Linked DNA regions of Homo sapiens: regions 1 and 3 are each linked to region 2. Evidence: promoter capture Hi-C in human tissues and cell types (Jung and others, 2019). All regions are on one chromosome and are shown on one strand. The core of a region is centred on a gene start or on the middle of the fragment in contact, and the rest is flanking DNA. Distances in the headings are between cores, read along the strand shown. Region 1 overlaps MAGI3 (membrane associated guanylate kinase, WW and PDZ domain containing 3). Region 2 holds the start of LRIG2 (leucine rich repeats and immunoglobulin like domains 2). Region 3 has its middle 38 kb from the start of NUTF2P4.

Region 1 (3,112 bases), core at 420-2,919, 480 kb after region 2:
GACAAAGTTCAGACTCCTTAGCATCGCATAAAATATTTTTTGTTTTTTTAATCTGCCTCCTTATCTATGATTTCCTCCTACAAATCTACCTTGTAGCTGCAGATTGTAACTTCTGCCTTTATTTCAATTTGTATTTGCCTGATGTGTCTTTGTCCATCTTGTTATTCTTAAAGTCTCTGAATCTCTGTTTTACAAATAGTTCTAGACTTTACTCAGTAGCCAGTGTGAAACTTCTTAAATTTTTATTGATGTGATCAATATCTTTAGCCTCAGTTCTGTCATGGTTTTTATATTTACCATATATAAGCCTTTTGTATGAAAAGCTTTTCACTGTGTAGTCATTTTATTTGATCTCTTTTTAGGAAGGTTTGTAGGGATCTTTTTTTTAATGGTTACCTTGATACCTTTATATAATAATCTTTGTTCCTCCCTCCCTATTTTTTTGCTTCTGTCTCTACTATGAGTAATATTAAAATTACTTAGTCATCTCTTCTTTTTCCTTCCTTCTCTCCCATCATCTGACTTGAAGTAATATCTTTTTATTCCTACGAAATATAAGGTAATCAGTAAATGTATCCCACACTTTGCTGTGCTTTTCTCATTCTTACCCTACTTTTTTTGATAGTTGGGCTGTTGTTCTACATTGGCTAAGCAAATAGCCATTACATTACTGTACTTTCCTCCTTTATAATTATCATTTATCTTTTATTCTGTGGGTAAATACATATTTAATATAACCACCAATCCTTATGTTGTTATTTTTCACTAATTGTAGTTGTCTAAAGCTTTTTCTTTACTCGTTTTCCCAGCAAAGGCTCACAGGATCATCTTAGGAGTTTGTTTGTGGCCTTTATACTTTGATGTTTGTTTGGATGGATATAAAATTTTTGACTCATTTTCTTTCCTTGACTATCTTAAATATATTAGTCAACTATCTAACTGTTTTTGGCATAAAGCATTGCTCTTAAAGAGTTTGGTAGCAATCTAATTTTCATTCCTTTGTAAGTAACTTGATATTTTGCCTGCATGGGATGTCTCATTTTTAGTTTCATAGCTCTAGAGCTTCCTCTTCCCTTGTTAAAACAAGATAATAAAAATATGTACTTGTACTTTCTAAGATAGGTCTTTTTTTTATACTGCCCTCTGCCACTTTCACTTAAGTTTTTCTTTTAATTTTATTGTTCCAGTTTTGCAGTTTCCTCAGTGTGAGGTTTTTATCCTAGAAGGGAGCTAAAATTTATTTTGTTTCATTTCACAGGGTCCAAGCAGCTGTAGCCCTTTTAGATCTCAACAGGCCCTCTTAACTTACACAAAAATTGAAGTGTCCAAAGCTCCCTCTAGGAACCTAGACGCAATGACACATCAGTAGCAGGTAGCATACTGAAGGGTCACATGTGATCTCTAAATATCATACTTTCCTAAAAAGTTTGAGGTCTCCTTGGAGATAGTTCTGATTCTAGGTCTGGTACAAGGAAAGTACAAGATGAGCTTTGGAGCATATAAGTGTATCAGAAAGTATATAGTGCTTAAAACATTATAGAGACATATCAGAAGGACATAGAAGCCACCTAGAAGGGGTGCTTGATACTTACTCCAAAAATCTGAAACAATTTGAGCAACAACGTTGAAAAAAGAGGGCACTTCTATTATTGTCAGATATTGAGCTGTAGGTGGAACAGGACTATGATCCTTGAGAGAAGAAGAAAGGAGACCACACACAGAGGAATCCTATAATTTCCTCAACTTTCTACTTAGAGGCACTTTCTGGACCACAGCACAAGGAGGGAGAGTCCAGGCAGAGTACAATGGACTCTGAGTTGAAGGGACAGAAATCTGAGTTCAAGAAGCCTGAGGTATCTGGAATTTGCAGGACAGAATGTCACAGAGGAGAGGGCTATGAAGAAAAAGAGCTCAAGCAATCTGTAAAGGCACCCCCTTGACTCTGTGGCTGAATACTAAGCTGAGAATATGTAGGACCAGACTCTTCAAGGTTAAACCAAAAAATCTCTCGGAGTTTTAAGTTTAACAATTCCCAGAGCTTACCCAGGGGCCAGGAGACATTTGAGTTCTAATCAGCTTGGTGGAAGAATCCCATAAGGGTCCTCCCTTACTAGCAGGGCTAAAATAGTCAGATAAAGCTCCTCTAGGCCTGCTTTAACAAAGCTTAATTAAGCAAGACCCCAAAGGATCAAGTGAATATGCATGCAACTTAACTGCTAGCAAAAAAGGAAGAAAGAAGGAAAGAAGTAAATCAACACTCTTTAAAGAAAGATAGTGTCTGGGCTCAGTGGCTCACGCCTGTAATCCCAGCACTTTGGGAGGCTGAGGCAGGCGGATCATGAGGTTAAGAGATTGAGACTATCCTGGCCTACATGGTGAAACCCCATCTCTACTAAAAATACAAAAATTAGCTGGGCGTGGTGGCGGGTGCCTGTAGTCCCAGCTACTTGGGAGGCTGAGGCAGGAGAATTGCTTGAACCTGGGAAGTGGAGGTTGCAGTGAGCCGAGATCGTGCCACTGCACTCCAGCCTGGTGACAGAGCGAGACTACGTCTCAAACAAACAAACAAAAAAATAGAAAGACAACAAAATGGAAACATTGTGTAACAAAATATTCAGAGTGTCCAGCATCTAATAAAAAATTACTAGACCTGCAAAAAGCAGGAAAATGTGACCCATAATCAAAAGAAAAGTCAGCTGATAGAAAAAAGAAACAGAAATGACACATGATGGCATTACTATACCAGGAGTTTTAGTTATTAGAAATATGCTCAAGGATTTAAAGAACAGTATCAACATAATGAAGAGAAAAATTATATATAAATATTCATATGTGTGTGTGTGTGTGTGTATGAATGAAGTGGAACCTTAAAAATTCACTGAATGGACTCAACAGGAGATTCAAAACTGGAGAAGAAAAGATCAGTGAACCTGAACACGTAGCAATATAAACTAATGAAACTGAAGCATAGAGAAGAAAATGACTGAAAAAGTGAACTTTTTTTTTTTTGAGCAACCAGATGACAATGGGGAGGGGAGAGATTTCTACTTCTGCAATGAAGTACCAGTACCATAACTAGTACTAGATTTACCCTTTTGTAATAAAGAACTGG
Region 2 (2,918 bases), core at 246-2,745:
GAATACGGCAGGCAGAGATTGCAGTGAGCCACTTACTGCGGAGGATACAGGTTAGAGAGCATTAATTTCTAATGGCCCCATTTGGTATAGTTTCATAGGAAAGCTCTGAAACTATAATGTAGAAAGGAACTAAACTGCCTCCTTTTTTTTTTTGTAAGGTTCCTGCCTATGCCGGATTTCTTACCAGAGTTTGTTAAGTCTGCTCAACAGCTAAGGGAAGAAGGCTAAGAGTAAGTTTCATTCCGCTGTCTTGGCTTTAAAAGTTTGGTTTGGACTGTAGCATTGGATATGGCCTTGTTTCCAATATATACTTCAATATTAAAAAAAAAAAACAGAAAAAGGTTTTTAAAAACATAATTATGACTCCATAATCTGCCATGGGAAAGATTGCTTTCAGTTACTTTCTATGAGAACCCTAACCTAGGCATTATCATTCTTTTTAACCTGCTCAGATTTTCAATTTATGTCAGAAAACCCATGTTAATGTCGAACCTGCCCCTGCCTCAAGAGTAACTTGGTTTAACCTCTTGGGGCTTGTTGCATCATCAGCAATAATTGTCTTGCCAATGTCACAGTCACTGAAGGAGCAAACAAGATAACAGATGCAAACGCCCTTTGAAAAGTTCACTACGTATAAGTGAACCATCACTATTATTCTCAAAGTCTTATTTACAACCTTGGATGGCTGAATGAGCATAAGATGGCCAGACTTCACTGTTCCTAGTAAGTTTTCCATAGCCTCTGCTTTAGGAGAAATAAATTTCCTCACATCCAGTCTTTGCTTTGTTGACTGCTCAACACCCTCTTGTCTCGCTTGCTTTTCTGAGAGTGACCTTGACAGCATCCCTCCAAAGAGAAGGGTATTTCCTTTATATAGACATGCAGGTGCAGTCCCACCAAAATTTATTGAACTCCAAGCTAGAACAAAAGGTGGAGGTGCACCGATGAAGAAACAGGGCCTCTGCCTTCAGGAGCTTACAAGGCCATTAACAGAGAGTGATATTGATCTTATGCAAATGGCAGTTGCCGCCTACTTGCAGAAGAGCAGGGGCTACAGCCAAGCAGCAGGGGGCAGAAGAGGCTCGAGCTCGGCTCTGGAGGCCGATCTGGCCAAAGCCAGGATAGAAGCTCCCGTGACCCATTCGTGTGTGCGACTTGGAAGGCAGCCCTTCTGCCACTCCCCTTTCTTAAAGCCCAGAGCAAATAAAAGATCCTTTTCTACTACAGTAGATATACCTGTAGTCAGGACTTTGAACTCACAGCTATTCGCCGCACCATTCCCTCTTAAGGAACTACTGCGCCCTCCAGCGGAAGAACAGCGGCGGAACTCCACAGCGGCAGCTAAAATCCCTGAACGCTTTAAAGTCCTTCTCCTCAAGATACTCGGCTGCGTCTGGCCCCGCCCCTCACTGAGTTCCGCCCCGGGCGCAACCTCATCTTATGGCACCGATTGGCTGGCCCCTGTGCGTGAGGACGTTGCGCCGTGGGGAGGGGCGGACGAGAGGTGTCCGTCAGGCCGTGTGTCCCAGGCCGTCGACCCCGCTGTCGCGCTGCGTCTGCTCCTTGCATGCCTTTAGATGGTACAGCCTTCAGCCGGGGCTTCGGGAGACAGTGCAGCCACCGAGCATCTCTGCTGAGCTTCTCCGCCGATCCTCCTTTTCTAGCAGGCAGCTCTTCTAGGCCACGTCCAGGTCGAGGGGGAAAATGGCGCCGGCGCCCCTAGGCGTCCCGGAGGAGCAGTTGCTGGGGTGTCGATCTAGAGTGCTTTCTCGGTTACTCTTCATTGCCCAGACCGCTCTCCTCCTGTTGCCCGCCGCCGGAGCAGGTCTCTGCCCCGCGCCCTGCTCCTGCCGCATTCCTCTCCTGGACTGCAGTCGCAGGAAATTGCCCGCACCGAGCTGGAGGGCGCTGTCGGGCTTGCTGCCCCCCGACACCGCTATCCTGTGAGTAGAGCGGCCAGGCAGAGTGACCAAAAGGAGGGGGAGCCTTCCCTCTACAGGGGGCAGGCAGGAGGGAGACAGGCCTGGTCGGAGGGTGTGGTCGAGAGCCTAAGCTCTGAAGGAAACTGCCGTCAGGATTTTATGAACTTTGTTTTAGGTGGTGGGAGCCTAAAAAAGCCGGTGTTAAGGTTTCTGGAGAATTGTATGAAGACGAGGGTTAAGATTCTTGGGGCCAAGGAGTCTGTGATTTCCTCAACTGGGGAGGAAATGGGGCGGGCATATTTAATGGTAAGGACTCACGGGTCCTGGGCACCAGCATTGACTTTGGATGGTTGGTGGGGCGGGGGGTGGGTTGAGCACGGAACAGTGCTTTCTGCTTATCTTGAGCTGCATGATTTGGTGTGTACCTCAGACTTAGTGGTCCTCAGGCACGTGATTTTATAATCACAATCGCCAAAGACCTATGAACTGTCTTTAGTCCTTAGTTCGCATGTTGGCTGATTTTGTGCTGCAGTTTTGATACTTAACAGGGTTGAAAAGTTCATTATGATGAATCAGGAGATCCTGTAATTCAGAATATCTTTGTAAGTAGCATTCTTGATCTAATTTAAACTTCACTGTAAAGAGGAGGAGTATTTTTTGCAGAACCATTTGATGCTTTGTTTTCAGCGCATCTTCTTGTGGCAAAGAACCCAAAAATCAGTTCTGCTTATTTATGTAGGTAAAGCAGGTACAACGGTTGAATGAATTCTGGAGTTTCCACTGTTGAGTTTTCACTTTGACAGGTCTTTATTAGACAGTGGAACTTGGAGGGCTCCTTAGTCTGAGTCAGCCTGGTGGTATTAGGAACAACAGCAGGTATTAAATGCTGCAATTATGGGGCTTCTTAACCACTAACATACAGTTATTTCTCGTCACTAACTGAGCAGCACGTTTATTAACTGACAGATTTCTGATGGAGTCGTTAAGAAAGAGTCA
Region 3 (3,008 bases), core at 191-2,690, 290 kb before region 2:
TCTGACCTTCCACACTGTTCCAGCCTCTTTCCATTACCCATCTCCAAAGGTGCTTCCACATTTTCAGGTATCTTTATAGCAATGCCCCACTCCTTGGTACCAGTTTTCTGTGTTAGTTTGTGGGGTTTTTTTGGTTTTTGTTTTTTTTGGTTTTTTTTTTTTTTTGAGATGGAGTTTCACTCTTTTTGCCCAGGCTGGAGTGCAATGGCGCAATCTTGGGTCACTGCAACCTCCGCATCCCAGGTTCAAGTAATTCTCCTGCCTCAGCCTCCTGAGTACCTGGGGTTACAGGTGCCCACCACCATGCCCAGCTAAATTTTTTTGTATTTTTAGTAGAGATGAGGCTTCACCATATTGGCCAGGTTGGTCTCCAACTCCTGACCGCAGGTGCTCCACCAACCTCGGCCTCCCAAAGTGCCGGGATTACAAGCGTGAGCAACCGTGCCTGGCCCTAGTTTGTTCTTACATTGCTATAAAGAAATACTTTTCTCTTTCTTTTTTTTTTTTTTTTTTTTGAGCTGGAGTCTCACTCTGTCGCCAGGCTGGAATGCAGTGGCGCGATCTTGGCTCACTGCAACCTCTGCCTCCCAGGTTCAAGCGATTCTCCTGCCTCAGCTTCCCGAGTAGCTGGGACTACAGGTGCGCACCACCATGCCCAGCTAATTTTTTTATTTTTAGTAGAGACTGGTTTTCACCATGTTGGCCAGGAAGGTCTTGATCTCTTGACCTCGTGATCTGCCCGCCTTGGCCTCCCAAAGTGTTGGGATTACAGGCATGAGCCACTGCTCCCGGCAAGGAATTATTTTAAGCCTGTAATCCCAGCAGTTTGGGAGGCTGAGGCGGGCGGATCACAAGGTCAGGAGTTTGAGACCAGCCTGGCCAACATGGTGAAACCTTGTCTCTACTAAAAATACAAAAATTAGCCAGGCATGATGCCACGTGCCTGTATTCCCAGCTACTCGGGAGGCTGAGGCAGGAGAATTGCTTGAACCCAGGAGGCAGAAGTTGCAGTGAGCAGAGATCATGCCACTGCACTCCAGCCTGGGCAAGAGGGCAAGACTCTGTCTCAAAAAAAAAAAAAAAAAAAGGCCAGGTGTGATGGCTCACGCCTGTAATCCCAGCACTTTGGGAGGCCGAGGCAGGCGGATCACCTCAGGTCGGGAGTTCGAGGCCAGCCTGACCAACATGGAGAAACCCCGTCTCTACTAAAAATACAAAATTAGCCAGGCATGGTGGTGCATGCCTGTAATCCCAGCTAATTGGGAGGCTGAAGCAGGAGAATTGCTTGAACTCAGGAGGCAGAGGTTGCAGTGAGCCGAGATTGCACCATTGCACTCCAGCCTGGGCAACAAGAGCAAAACTCTGTCTCAAAAAAAAAAAGAAAGAAAGAAAGAAAGAAAGAAAGAAAAAAGAAAAGAAAAAAAAAGAAACACCTAAGACTGAGTAATTTTATTTATTTATTTATTTTTGAGACAGAGTCTCGCTCTGTCGCCCAGGCTGGAGTGCAGTGGCGTGATCTTGGCTCGCTGCAACCTTTGCCTTCTGGGTTCAAGCAATTCTCTGGTCTCAGCCTCCTGAGTAGCTGGGACTACAGGCACCCAACACCACAACTGGCTAATTTTTGTATTTTTAGTAGAGATGGGGTTTCACCATATTGGTCAGGCTGGTCTCAAACTCCTGACCTCAGGTTTTTCCCCTGCCTCGGCCTCCCAAAGTGCTGGGATTACAGGCATTAGCCACTGTGCCCAGCCAAGACTGGGTAATTTATTAAAGAAAAGAAATTGGCATTCTCCTGCCTCAGCCTCCTGAGTAGCTGGGATTACAGGCGCCCGCTACCATGCCCGGCTAATTTTTTGTATTTTTAGTAGAGACGGGATTTCACCGTGTTAGCCAGGATGGTCTTGATCTCCTGACCTCGTGATCCGCCCGCCTCGGCCTCCCAAAGTGCTGGGATTACAGGTGTGAGCCACCACGCCCAGCCTGACATTAAATCGACCAGCCTTTTGAGTGCTTCAGTGAGAGATTTTATGCAGAATCGCAGCCAAGACAAAAAGACAATCTGAGAGCAGGCACACACATTTTAGAGGACAAAATAATGAAATTTCTTTATCAGTTCCATCATTATATTTTTTTCATTAAAAAAAAAAAGAAATTGGCTGGGCACAGTGGCTCACGCCTATAATTCCAGCACTCTGGGAGGCTGAGGTGGGTGGATCACCTGAGGTCAGGAGTTTTAGACTAGCCTGGCCAACATGGTGAAATCCCGCCTCTACTAATAATACAAAAAAAAATAGCTGGGCGTGGTGATGCACACCTGTAATCTCAGCTTCTCGGGAGGCTGAGGCAGGCAGGACAATTGCTTGAACCCGGGAAGGGGAGGTTGCAGTCTGCCGAGATTGCGCCATTGCACTCCAGCCTGGGCAAAAAGAGTGAGACTCTGTTTCAAAAAAAAAGAAAAGAAAGAAAGAAGAGGTTTAGGCTGGGCTTGGTGGCTCATGCCTGTAATCCCAGCACTTTGGGAGGCTGAGGCGGGCAGATAACCTGAGGTCAGGAGTTCAAGACTAGCCTGACCAACATGGACAAACCCTGTCTCTACTAAAAATACAAAATTAGAGCTCGGCACGGTGGCTCACGCCTGTAATCCCAGCACTTTGGGAGGCCGAGGCAGGCAGATCACAAGGTCAGGAGATTGAGACCATTCTGGTTAACACGGTGAAACCCCATCTCTACTAAAAATACAAAAAATTAGCTGGGCGTTGTGGTGGGCGCCTGTAGTCCCAGCTACTCGGGAGGCTGAGGCAGGAGAATGACCTGAACCCGGGAGGAGGAGCTTGTAGTGAGCGTAGTGAGCAGAGATGGCACCACTGCACTCCAGCCTGAGAGACAGTGAGACTCTGTCTCCAAAAAAAAAAAAAATAATACAAATTTAGCTGGGCGTGGTGGCTCATGCCTCTAATCCCAGTTACTCGGGAGGCTGAGGCAGGAGAATTGCTTGAACCAGGGAGGTG

The links. The method cuts DNA at HindIII sites, captures the fragments that hold promoters and counts their contacts. A contact is called where the count stands out against the background at its distance.
Region 1: a contact is called between a fragment that was not itself captured here and the fragment with the promoter of LRIG2 in region 2, in 1 of the 25 tissues and cell types used here (hippocampus).
Region 3: a fragment that was not itself captured here is called in contact with the fragment with the promoter of LRIG2 in region 2 in 2 of the 25 tissues and cell types used here (H1 embryonic stem cells and thymus).

Annotation. Positions count from the first base shown.
Region 1 is chr1:113,551,453-113,554,564 of GRCh38, forward strand. All of the region lies in intron 2 of MAGI3 (membrane associated guanylate kinase, WW and PDZ domain containing 3), which reads left to right. Among named protein-coding and RNA genes, the nearest start is that of MAGI3, 160 kb to the left of the region's middle. The HindIII fragment of the contact is 6,323 bases long and covers 1-3,112 here.
Region 2 is chr1:113,071,703-113,074,620 of GRCh38, forward strand. It overlaps LRIG2 (leucine rich repeats and immunoglobulin like domains 2), which reads left to right and starts at 1,496. Exons shown (of 18, transcript NM_014813.3): 1 at 1,496-1,943. The coding sequence starts at 1,705. LRIG2-DT (LRIG2 divergent transcript) reads right to left here and starts at 1,400. Exons shown (of 3, transcript NR_103777.1): 1 at 1,237-1,400. RefSeq lists enhancers at 967-1,216, 1,275-1,808, 1,467-1,776, 1,809-2,340, 1,957-2,016 and 1 more. The HindIII fragment of the contact is 29,814 bases long and covers 1-2,918 here.
Region 3 is chr1:112,784,402-112,787,409 of GRCh38, forward strand. No RefSeq gene overlaps it. Among named protein-coding and RNA genes, the nearest start is that of NUTF2P4, 38 kb to the left of the region's middle. The HindIII fragment of the contact is 8,522 bases long and covers 1-3,008 here.